Linked DNA regions of Homo sapiens: all the other regions are linked to region 1. The links are contacts of gene promoters, found by promoter capture Hi-C in blood cells and fetal thymus (Javierre and others, 2016). All regions are on one chromosome and are shown on one strand. Each heading gives the region's core, a stretch centred on a gene start or on the middle of the fragment in contact. The rest is flanking DNA. Distances are from core to core; before and after follow the strand shown. Region 1 holds the start of KMO (kynurenine 3-monooxygenase). Region 2 overlaps WDR64 (WD repeat domain 64). Region 3 has its middle 26 kb from the start of EXO1.

The links. Contacts are between HindIII fragments. The CHiCAGO score rates a contact against its expected background, and 5 or more counts as called.
Region 2: a contact is called between a fragment that was not itself captured here and the fragment with the promoter of KMO in region 1, in 1 of 17 cell types (M0 macrophages). The highest score is 6.5, in M0 macrophages.
Region 3: a fragment that was not itself captured here is called in contact with the fragment with the promoter of KMO in region 1 in 4 of 17 cell types (M2 macrophages, monocytes, M1 macrophages and 1 more); the score reaches 9.0 in M2 macrophages.

Annotation. Positions count from the first base shown.
Region 1 is chr1:241,530,099-241,534,070 of GRCh38, forward strand. It overlaps KMO (kynurenine 3-monooxygenase), which reads left to right and starts at 2,280. Exons shown (of 15, transcript NM_003679.5): 1 at 2,280-2,400. The coding sequence starts at 2,347. RefSeq lists an enhancer at 1,863-2,012. The HindIII fragment of the contact is 7,761 bases long and covers 1-3,972 here.
Region 2 is chr1:241,796,793-241,800,942 of GRCh38, forward strand. All of the region lies in intron 27 of WDR64 (WD repeat domain 64), which reads left to right. Among named protein-coding and RNA genes, the nearest start is that of EXO1, 49 kb to the right of the region's middle. The HindIII fragment of the contact is 3,331 bases long and covers 125-3,455 here.
Region 3 is chr1:241,819,988-241,824,218 of GRCh38, forward strand. No RefSeq gene overlaps it. Among named protein-coding and RNA genes, the nearest start is that of EXO1, 26 kb to the right of the region's middle. The HindIII fragment of the contact is 4,489 bases long and covers 149-4,231 here.

The DNA of each region.
Region 1 (3,972 bases), core at 1,030-3,529:
AAAATTCTTGGCAATACATACATTGGTGAGGATACAGCAGAAGACAAATTTTACACATTGTGTTAAGTAAAAGCTAATGCACTACTTTGGAATGTAACTTTCGTTTATTCAGAAAGGTTAAAAATATGCATAAACATGGCTGGGCGCAGTCACTCACATCTGTAATTCCAGCACTTTGGGAGGCTGAGGCGGGTGGACCACTTGAGGCCGAGTTCAAGACCAGCCTAGTCAACATGGTGAAACCCCATCTCTACTGAAAAAATACAAAAATTAGCTAGGCGTGGTAGCAGGCACCTGTAATCCCAGCTACTCGGGAGGCTGAGGCAGGAGAATCAGTTGAACCTGGGAGGCAGAGGTTGCAGTGAGCCGAGATTGCACCATTGCACTCCAGCCTGGGTGACAGAGTGAGACTCCATCTCAAAAAAACCCAAAAAACAAAAAACAAACAAAAAAGCATAAACAGCATATGAAACCTAGAGATACTCATACATATGTACATGACATTGTATACACAAGAGTGTTTATGGCAACACCATTATTCATGATATTAAAAATTTGGAAACACCCCAAATGTCCATCAACAGCACAATGGACAAATAATAAATGACGATAAAAATGAATGAACTGGAAAAACATGCAACAACACAAATGGATCTTAAGAGATATAATATTGAGAAAAAGAAGCAAGTTGTAAAAAAATAAACAGTATAAGTTCATTTATAGGAAAGTTCAAAAAAGTCAACACTAAACTATTTTAGGGATGCATCTATCATGGTACAATTATACATAAAAGCAAAGAAAGTTGGTATGGCAGTTACCTCTACGAAGGAGGGGTGATTAACAGGGGGCACGTTAGACTTCTGGGATTCTGGCAATATTCTCTCTCTGCACCTAAATGGTAGTTACATGGATACTTGCTTTACAGTAACTTATTATACTGTTCATTTGTGTTATAGTTCATAATTTTTAAAAGATTTTTTAACAATGATACATATTGATACTGAGGAATTGATACATATTCTCTACATATTGATATTGAAGAATTCTCAAGCTATATGTTGTAAAGTGAGAAATATGATGTGGAAAAAGTTTTTAAATGTATGTTTAAAAAGAAAGGAAGGAAGGGAATGAGAGAGTGAGAGAAAGAGAGAGAGAAAAGGAGAGAGAGGAAGAACAAGAAAGACATAATCAACGTGTAGAAGAATACGGTAACCCACACACCAAAACAGTTGTTGTCTTTGGGCAGGAGGAATAGGTGGCCAAGGGTCAAGGTTAGCAGGATTACTATTCACCGTGTACTCTTTTGTGTCTTTAATTTCATGCCATGTTAATGTATTACCTATTCAAAATAAATAAAATACCTAATCATGCTTATCCACAAGGGGTCACTATTGAATGCCATTTAACTCTAGTTCCTAACCAGGGAAAAAAACGTTCTGAATTCTTTATGTGCTTAACAGGAAGTGAAGAAACAACTTCATTTATGTTCTTATTTTACATTACACCACATCATGTTCCAGAAAACAATTGCCATTCGCAAATCATGCACAAAAGTATAACATTTAAAACGGAGTGAAAAAGACAAAAAAGTGAATAGATAATATGAAGTCGGGAATGAGTTTACAGAAGCGTTGTGTCAGTCATCTCCCCTAGTGGTAATTAGACTCTAAATTTTCGATTCTAAAATTAGATTCTAAATTTTCTAGCATCTGGGCTGAAAAAAAAAAGGGGAAGTATGGTCAGTTACACAATTCAAAATGTTGATCGGGAGAATATTAAGACCTTGCAGAGAATTTTCCCTGGTAGAGCCTGTTAAAAACAATCCATGAGGACCCTTTAGATGAAATTTTTGATTGGTCTTAACCACAAAAATGATCCACAGATGAATTATGAAACCATGTCATCTTACTCTCTAAGGGAGGTATAAGATGTTTTTGGACTTCAGATGAGAAGGGCTCCATTCATGGTTAATCATGAATGAAAACGAAACTAAGAATATATGCTGTAGAAAAAGAAGAAGAAAAGCCACAAGACTGCTTAAAAATTTCTGTGTCTTACACAGAAGATAGAAAAAATAGAGTGTCTCCAATTGGATGGATTTTTTAAAAAATTTGGTTATTGTAATGGATTTATTTTTTCTTAGAGCTGAGCTGATTGTACTTTGGCCAACTAATGGGTTAATACTGTCAAGGGAAATTAGCCCTGACTAAACATTGCCGCTGGCTCATGAATGCACTAGGCTTGGGGCAGTATAAAAACTCAGAGAAATCAGTGTGTAGGAGACACAGAAATCAGTGTCACTCAGTGACAGAAGCAACAATAATTGTGAAAAATACTTCAGCAGTTATGGACTCATCTGTCATTCAAAGGAAAAAAGTAGCTGTCATTGGTGGTGGCTTGGTAAGAATTTTCAGATGGATTACTATTGTTGGTGGTATTATATTAACTATTATTACTCGTAATGATTATTATTCGTCACTTCTGCAAATTGTTAATTTTCTTGTGAAAACTCTGATATTTAAATACAGCTATTTTGTTTATTTTTTTAATATTTTTATTTTCATAGATTTAATATAGTATGAGTTTTAATCTGTTCTTTTTCAGGAAAGGTATTTTATAGCCATTAAATACAAAGGTTTCTGTTTTCCCTCATCATTTTGGTTTAGGATTTGTTAAAAAGCAAAAATAATGCAAATTGAATTTGATTTTATCCCCAAATTGGCTATGTTTTTAGGAACAGGAATTAGTCTCAATATTCATTTTAATAAAAACATTTGTTCCGCTTTGTTTAATAACTCAGTTAATGCTGTCTAATGAGAATAAAAGGGTCAAGAAACATGAAGCTAACGTCAAAGTATCATGTTGAATGTTCACTAGTTATATGAGTAATTGGGAATAAGATTTATGTGGTCGCCTGACTTACTTGACTCTTCCAGTGGAGCACCTAAGACAGTGGAGTGAGGTGTTCACCTCTCACTGAGCACGTGACGTAAAGGTGCTGGGGCTTCCCCCATACCTAACAAGACGGAAGGAGAGGTCACTCTCTGCTTTCATAGTTATGGTGCCAAAGGTAGTTCTGTTTAACATGGGTCTGCTCCGATTCAACTTTGCTTTTTCCCATCTCAGCAGAATTTCTGTTTCAGAATACAAACATCCCAGTTAGTCAAGGTTAAATCATTTCCCTATCACCTTTGGTCAAATCATTTGGAGACTTTTCATTAATTATTCATATATCCACTCAACAAAAAATTTATTGAGGGCGTAACACTGTTCTAGGCTGAATATAGATGGTATATTTTATGCCACACATGTATTTATACAGTATATGCTGTCTTTTGTTCTGCCTTCCTTAGTGTCTTTTCCCCAAAGTGCTAGAACAGTTCTTTTAATATTTCTGATTCTAAATTTTCATTTAGAAATGCTATCACATGATGTGTTGGTCACTGGTTGGGACATGTGTCGTCACTGCTTCATACTAGGCTTGTGTCCAATCTGTCCTATCAAAATGTTGCACAAAATGAGAATTCATGTGTTCAACAAAATCTGATTACTATGTACCAATATTGTTTTAGGTAGTAGGGATGCGAGGGTGAGAATTCCAGAGAAGAAAAAGACAAGGAAGAAGAAAACAAATAAGACAATTTCAGTTAAAGAGAAGCACTATGAAAGAAACGAAAACAGGGTAGTGCTGTAGAGAGTATCTTTGGGAGTACCTGTTTAGAATGTGGTCAGGGACAGCTGCTCTGCTGAAGGGACATGTGACCAGAGACCTGAATGATCAGATAGAACTAACTACGTGAAGATCTTGAGAAAGAGCATTTCAGGCAGAGGGAACAGCAGGAAGAGAAACCCTCAGGCAATAATGAGCTGCCCAAGTTCAAGGAGCAGAAAGAAAGGCAGGAACTGCCTGAGGCCAGAGAAGAGTAGCTGATGAGGCCAGAAAAGCTGACAGACCAGATCTTGTAGGATCTT
Region 2 (4,150 bases), core at 540-3,039, 270 kb after region 1:
CTCAGTTCATATTTTTTATGAATATTCCAGATGTGTGTGTTTTAGCTCAGTGAGATGAAAATCATGAATTTGCTGGACAGAGAAAGAGAAAAATCAAATAAGATCAATAAGCCTGAGCTAATGAAGCTTATCTAGACCTTTATGACTGAAATTCACTGAGCTGTTTTAGAAACTAGGAGATTTGACACGACATAGAGGAGGGCTGTATAACCATCCTTGTGTCTTAATTTGGTTGTACCTACAGAGTAAAGCCATGAGGTCAGTTTCTGTCTTAGCTGCAAGAATTTTTCTACAGTATTAATAAAAATAACTAACATGCAATGCTTTAGAGTTTGCAGTGATTTTATAAATGATTCATTTGATTTTCACAATAAGAACAAAGAAAATATTAGACTCTCTTAGAGCTGGGGAAAAAATGGAGTCTAAAGTAAGGTCAAGTGGCTTACCAAAGATCACATACAAATGAAGTGATAAGCTGATACCTACTCTGACTCCAAGCTCATTCAATGAAACCATGATAGCCTACACAGCTATCACTATATAACCTATCACTCTCCTACTAGTTCTAGAAGCTCTCAGGGGCCTAACTTAACCTGTGGCCATTTATCCAGTCATTAAAATAGATCAAACATTTAGGAGGAAGATATAGCACATGGTAATTTTTTATAAGTCTCCTTTCCATGAAGTCAGATTAAAATTAAAAAGGAGTTGGCGTTTATTGATTGTGCCTAACTCAGTAATACATAACAAATACTGACAACAACAACAATATTCAAAGCTGCTTTAATTAATATTGAAAACTTTGCCATAATAATGTTAGCTTGTGCACTTAATGAGAATATGAATAATTTCTGTTCATCATCAACTCTGACAATTATTTAAGAATTTTTGGCATTAGAAGAGTTTTCTGTTAAAAAATATCATTTACTTTTAATTGTTTTATGTAACTGATGAAACACAGTTGTATAAATAATCCAAAACCTTGTCTAGAGACCTGGAAATGAAAAAAAAAATCCAAAACTAAAGGTAATAAAGTATTTGTATTTTTTTCTGCACGACTCTGTGCATTAGGTTTTATAATTCATGCATTTTATGTCTATTTGCACTCTTATTTAAATTTTATCTCATCTGATGTTAAATATACTTTGCATTCTTTAAGTAAATACTAAGTGACAGAAAGAAGATGGCCAAATATGTCTTAGGTACCAGGGGGAAGACAATATGGAATGAAAAATTATTCACAGTTAATCTACATAAAGACTAATCTACACTCCAATAACCAGAATTTGACTCTACTATAATTAATTTTATTAGAGATCATAAAGAATGATAAATTATTTATCCAAACACAAAGACATTTTTAAGATGTCTAAATAACCTGATGTTCTGACAAATCCTTTATTTTCTCTTAATCACTCTGATAGATCGTCGATCACACCAGAAAGACAAAAAGAATAGATGTCTTCATTTGTTTATAGAAAATAGGTGCCTTAATTTGCTTAAATTGAAAAATCCTCACATAAAACTCTCTTCTGGTTTACTAAAAGAAATAGTTAAGTGTGGCCAGGAGGTCAAAATTGGTTTCCAATATACAATTAAGACCAATTGTGCACTTAGTAAGATGACAAAATCTGGAAACTGGGATAGATTAAAGCACCACTATGTTAACTGTCTACAATTTTAGAACTCCAAAGAGCCTAAATGGAAAAACAGTGGATCACATAAAATCAGTAGTTAGACACCAAATGCCTCGTTTCATAAAAATACTTCCAAAATGGTGGGCATAAAACGACCTCAGAAATTCAGGGGGAGAAATTTCACTTTTATGAAACAAATATTTATGGAATACCTTAAAATATTCATCATGTCCCCTGCACTGTTCTGGGCACCAGGAATCCATTTATAGATTAAGGAACTTACAGTACAGTTGGAAGAAAGTCCTTTGAGTAAAAGGTTCAATAACAGATATCTTAGTCTATTTTGACTTACTATTTTTAAATATAGAAATGCTAATTCTGAATATGAACTTCTTTAAATCATTTATACGTCTCTTTAGAATTAAACAACACATTATAAAATATTAACCATGGTACAACAAAAGATAAATCAGAACATGAGTTTGTATTTCCTTTTCAGTTTAAATGTAGGAAGAGAAGGGAAGAAAGTGAACTTTGGAAAGTGTAACCCATTTTCAAAATTGTGGAAACATGTCCAATCATGCAAAAATGTCTAAGTGAAAGATGGTATATGTGAAAACATACTCCATAGTTTTTCCAAAGTATTTAATGACAGGCCAGGCTCAGTGGCTCATGCCTGTAATCCCAGCACTTTGGGAGGCTGAGGCAGTTGAACTGATTGAACCCAGGAGTTTGAGACCAGTCTGGGAAACACAGTGAGACTTTGTCTCTCCAAAAAAAAAAAAAAAAAAAAATACAAAAATTAGCCGGGTGTGGTGGTGCACACCTGTAGTCCCAGCTGCTTGGGAGAGGTGGGAGGATCGCTTGAGCCTGGAAAGTGGACGTTGCAGTGAGCCAAGATCGTGCCAAAGCATCTCAGCCTGGATGACAGAATGAAACTCTGTCTCAAAAAAAAAAAAAAGTATTTAATGACAGAAAAATTATCACAATTTTATTTTAGGTGAAAAGAATATATAAACTGTAACTCAGTAATATTTCTAATGACAACAGCAAATCTTTATTTTCAAATCAATGTTGCCCAGTATGATATTGTGCATTTGCTATGTACTCTTTCATTTCATCTTTGCAACAACACTTTGAGATATGTTGCAATGATCATCCTCCTGTTACAGTTAAGAAAACTGAAACACAGAGGATAAGTAATTCCTCTGAGATTCCAAAAAAGCAAGTCATAGAGCTGGGATAAATCCAGTCACTTAACTTCAAAGCCTGGACACTTAAATGCAATGCGGTATAATTCAGTGATGGGTGAGCTGCTAGGTCTCTCCTGGTCAGAATAACCTTATGAGAATTAACAATTAATGAACACTAGAGAGCCCCACCCTTCCCATCTTTTTCAGTCTCCTCACTGATGTAATTTTTTTCATAGCTCTGATCACTACATGACATTGTATCATATAAAAATCCATTTTTTCCAAAATTATTTTTCATATAGCTTAATTTTTCCCCTAAAAAGTCATTTTTATTGCCTTTATCCCACTAGAATGTAAGATCCATGAAGGCAGAAACTTTGCCTAACTTACTCTCTGCTGCAGTGCCAATGTCTGGAACATAAGAGACACTGCAGAAACATTTGCTGAATGAAATAGTGAATTAGCCTTTAAAACAAGTGGAAAAAGAAAAAGAGAAAATAAAAGAAAGATCTGTGCAGCTTGGAAAGTTCCCTCTGCTGGGGTTTAGCAGGTTGATCCAGGGAGCTAAGCCTCCTACCTTGTCTGTGGGAGAAAGAGGAGTACTCATGTGACCTCTTAATGTCCAAGCTTAAAGGATCCGTAAGTGGTTGAATCTTGACCTTAGGAGCTCACTCTTCTCCCTTTCCTTATAACTCTCTACATCTCCTCTTCCCTTTTTCTTCTTTCTTTCTTTATCCCCATAATAGACCATAAAATCAAATTGACATGTATTGTGAATATTGGTTGAACATAACTGATATGAATTTTTAAACCAAATTAGTTTAAATTTTTATACCTATTTCTTCCAAAAATAATCAATGCAAAACAAACTTTTATTAGCTGGACGTGGTGACACATGCCTGTGGTCCCAGTTACTCGGGAGGCTAAGATGGGAGGATTGCTTGAGCCCAGGAGGTTGAGGCTGCAGTGGGCTGTGATGGTGCCACTGCACTCCAGCCTGGGTGACAGAGCAAGACCCTGTCTCAAAACAAAGCAGAACACAACAAAAACCAAACTTTTATTCCTCATTTGTGTGACTGATAATCACTTGATTTTATTTTCCTGTGAGCCAACCGACTCTGATGTTATTAATCTGCAATATTAATTAATTATTAATTGTGCTCGCTTCAGCAGCACATATACAATATTAATTATTAATTAACCAAGTCTTGTTTTGTTTTGTTTTGACCCAACCCTTTCCACACTGTGCAGCTGAGTCCTAGAATGGATAACTGCCCAGTTAAGTAGCTCTTCAGCTTCTGCTTGTCCACCGCATCCTTC
Region 3 (4,231 bases), core at 1,143-3,642, 290 kb after region 1:
GAGAATGGAGTGGGAAAGTAAGTGAAGTGTGTGTGTGTGTGTGTGTGTGTGTGTGTGTGTGTGTTGAGGAAAGAGCTGAAAAAGAAAACACAGAAAGAACAGAGCAGAATAATTTATAAGCTCTTGGGAGCAATGGTAAGGAAGGAAAAGCTTTGAATTCAGGTCAGATTGCAATTAGCCAAGCTATCTTAGTAAGTAGGGTAGAGAGAATCTGATATCCCATACATTATTTTTATTTGACACTGAAAATATTTATTATATTTTATAGTGGATACACCTTCTGAATTATGTTATAGGTTAACACTGAAGATATGTTTCATCTACTAAACATATAACTGCTGGATAGTTGGGGGAAAATGGCTAGAAGTTTGCTAGGTAGCAGTAGAAAATCTAGCTGGGATTCAAAATATCTCAGGAATAACACATGATACAAATATTGCCTACTTAATCGTGAAATAGACTGCATTTGTATGGCTTGTATTTGTGTACAGGATGACTGTACTTATTTTGGTAAATAGATACTCGTACATTGTGTACACATGTGCTTTTGAGCCCTCTCTTTTCATAGTCTAGAAGTACCATAAAGAAAGGGACCATGTCTAGTGTTTTCTTTATACCTCCTTTAACTATCAGTAGTAATATACTGTGGATGCCCCAAAATGTTAACTTACCTATTTATGAGTTGCTTACATTTATATTTTTCTTAGAGACATCAGTTTTTTTCTCAATGTATAAATAACTAGGTAAGGAATGGGATGGGACATTAATTTTCTCGAGAAATATTGCATGAAAAACTAGAAATACACAGGAAAAAACAAAAAAGATGGTCTCTGCCCTTCAGGTACTTATTGCCTGAGAAAGGAAACAAAGATAGAATCAGATATGGGCAACAACATGTTAGAGGTGCGATGATGGAAGTCAGTACAAGTACCACATGGGCATGGGAAACGTTCCACCTGTAACAAATATATGCCTCTTCTTGCCAGTTACAGGCATCATCTGTATAGGATTCAGAAAGAAAAAAATATTTGTCTTAAGCTGAATGAAAACAATTCTGCAATTTTTATAGGAAATTCACATGACATTAAAAACAGGAAGACAAAAACAACGCATACAGGGTCTGCAAGATTTAGAAATACAGATAGGTAGAGATGAAAGGGATCAACTAAAAGGATTCATGTTTATATAACCAGTCCCAGTCCCCATTTTTCTATTATTAAATAATAGATGATTGCATGTGGTATCTAAGTCAGAATAAACTTTAATTTACAGCTATACCATCTGTACTACTTACTATTTCTATTACGGCAACTTCTTTGAAGAAGGCATTTGATTTTAAAAGGAATGCCATATCTATTTTTAGAATTTTTTTTTTCTACAAAAAAAGGCCATAGACTGGAAGAAAGCACAGAGGCACAGGTGGCTAAATACAATTTTTCAATGAATAGAAATGAGCTAAAAGTCTCTAACATTTCCTTAAAATGTCTTATGATGTCAGAACAAATTGAACGAATAAGTTTATGTATTGCTCATGCATGCACATAATTTATTTGTGGCATAATGACTCAGATGCAGTGTTTGGCTAGTAAATTCCACTTCTGCATTTCTGTTCACTGCCTGTAAATATTATTGTTCTGCCATCCTGACTTAATTATTCCTAGATAAAAAGAGATACACATTTGGAAGAAGGCAAAAACGAAAGATTTTTACAATGTGAAATAAAGGATCTTGATATTAGGCGCATCTTATAGATAGCTGGCCGCATATGGGGAAAATTATATGCTGAAGCAAGAGTTAAAATAAAGGGGTTTATTAATTTTACTACTTTATGTTCTTGTGAAGAGCAGAATGGTAAGGAATACTGCCAGTGGTTATTTGTAAAACTGGATCAGAAATCAGACCAATAGAAAAAATACATGCTTCATACTTACCAGTGCCATGTGACGATTTTATGGTGTCCACAAAACAGTCCAATTGATAGACTCTCTCTTCTGTTCAAATGGCCAGGCCAATTCAAGTGAGAACCAGAATTTGTTTTAGATCTGAGTTTCCAGGACTGTCTCTGGTTCTTCCATAGGTTTTTCTAGAGGGGACTGACCAAGTGGATCTACTCTCATCTGAAGACCATACTAGCCACCCACACTTACTTCAAGTGGTGCTGAATCCTCAAGGAAATTCCCTGACCTCTCAATCCTCACCATCCACAGAGCTAAATCAGACTTTCTTTGTGGTAAAGAACACAAGGTCTAGAATTAGCCTCTCCAGATTACAATTCTGGCTCCGGGCCGGGTGCAGTGGGTCATGCCTGTAATCCCAGCACTTTGGGAGGCTGAGGCAGGCGGGTCACATGGTCAGGAGTTTGAGACCAGCCCAGCCAATATGGTGAAACCCCGTCTCTACTAAAAGATACAAAAATTAGACAGGTATGGTGGCGCACACCTGTAGTCCCAACTATTCAGGAGGCTGAGGCAGGAGAATTGCTTGAACCCGGGAGGCAGAGGTTGCAGTGAGCCAAGATCATGCCACTGCACTCCAGCCTTTTCGAGACTCTGTCTCAAAAAAAAAAAAATAAATAAATTCTGGCTCTGACCATACCTGGTTTTTGGAAAGTTATTTAAGTTCTCTGTGCACAAGTTGACTCACCTACAATATGAAAATTATACTAATACCTGCATCTTAGGGTTTTCAATGAAGATCAGATTAAATAGTGCATGTAGAAATGCTTAGCAATATATGTATAAATATTTGTTTAATGTATATTTATGTGTCTAAATAAATATAAATATATACATACATATCTGCATTTGTATCTTTCACCTTCTTTGCACATAGGCATTCACACGACTTTGTTCTTACCTTGCAAATGTTATATACAAAATATATTCTAACATTTTCCCCATCCTTCTTCTCCATTCTATGCTGCCCTTTGCCAAGTGAACACAACTAGCCTAACCAGAAAGAGAGAAAAAAACAAACCTCACATCCCAGCAACTGTCAATTTTTTGCCCATATTCATTCTTCTCACATTTCTTCCACTCTTGCAATAGCAAAGAGAAAATTAAAAACAGGTTGGGCAACTGATAATATTCTTTTTGCATCACCAATTAGAATTCTGAGACTCTAAGTCATAAGGTAGGAACAGCTTCAGATGTGTTTTGAAAAACAGAAACAAACCCACATAGCACTCTGCCTGGGGAGAAAATCATTTCTCCCATGAATACTGATTCAGTTCAAAGGCACACCTAACTGTAATCCATAATAGAATAAGATGAAAAGTTTATTCGAAGAGAATCTAAACACAGAATTGAGAGGGGGAAGGAAAATAGTCACACATAGAAAATTTATTCTGGGCCAGGTGTGGTAGCTCATGCCTGTAATCCCAGAACTTTGGGAGGCCAAGGCAAGAGGATCGCTTGAGCTGAGGAGTTCGAGAGCAGTCTGGGCAACAAAGTGAGAATCTATCTCTACAAAAAATAAAAGTAAATCAATTAGGCAGGCGTGGTGGTGTGCCTATAGTGTCAGCTACTTGGGAGGCTGAGATGAGAGGATCACTTGAGCCTGGGAGATGGAGGCTGCAGTGAGCCATGATCATGCCACTACATTCCAACCTGAGTAACAGAGACTTTGTCTCAAAATAAATAATAAATAAAAATAAAAATAAAAATAAAATTTACTCTTATGTGTATGCTGATACCTTCCTAGGAAAGAATCACTACCTCTCTATCAGAGTTTAAATGAAAAGAACCATTACTAGCTGAATGGGAAAGGCAAAAATGGAGCTACATCTTAGGCCTCCTAAATTTGCATTCAGTTCACTCAATCTTCACTGTAGCCACTTCTGGATCATCAAAGTCCACAGTACGGCTGAAGACCCTTAGCAAGGCAGGGCCTGTAATGTGATGCGGTAAGTGGGGATAGGCCTGGTGGCCCTTTTGTTTGCTTATTGGCCTAGCCTCAAAAATAAGACAAGGATTGGATGTCTTGGGGCTAATGGCTGGTTCTAAAGGCAAAACAGCCCTTCCAGGACAGTTGGGAAATAACAGTCCTTCCTCCCCTTAACACTGTATAGTGTATCAGGAAGCCACTCACCCAGGTGAAAGAGGGTCTAGGGCATTCCAGGAATGGAGAGGCCAGCGGATCTGTGAGAGACATTTTTTAATGCTACACACCCAGTGTCACTCAAATTGTCTCCCACCCTAGCCCCAGGGAGTCATGCTCCCTCAGTTCCTCC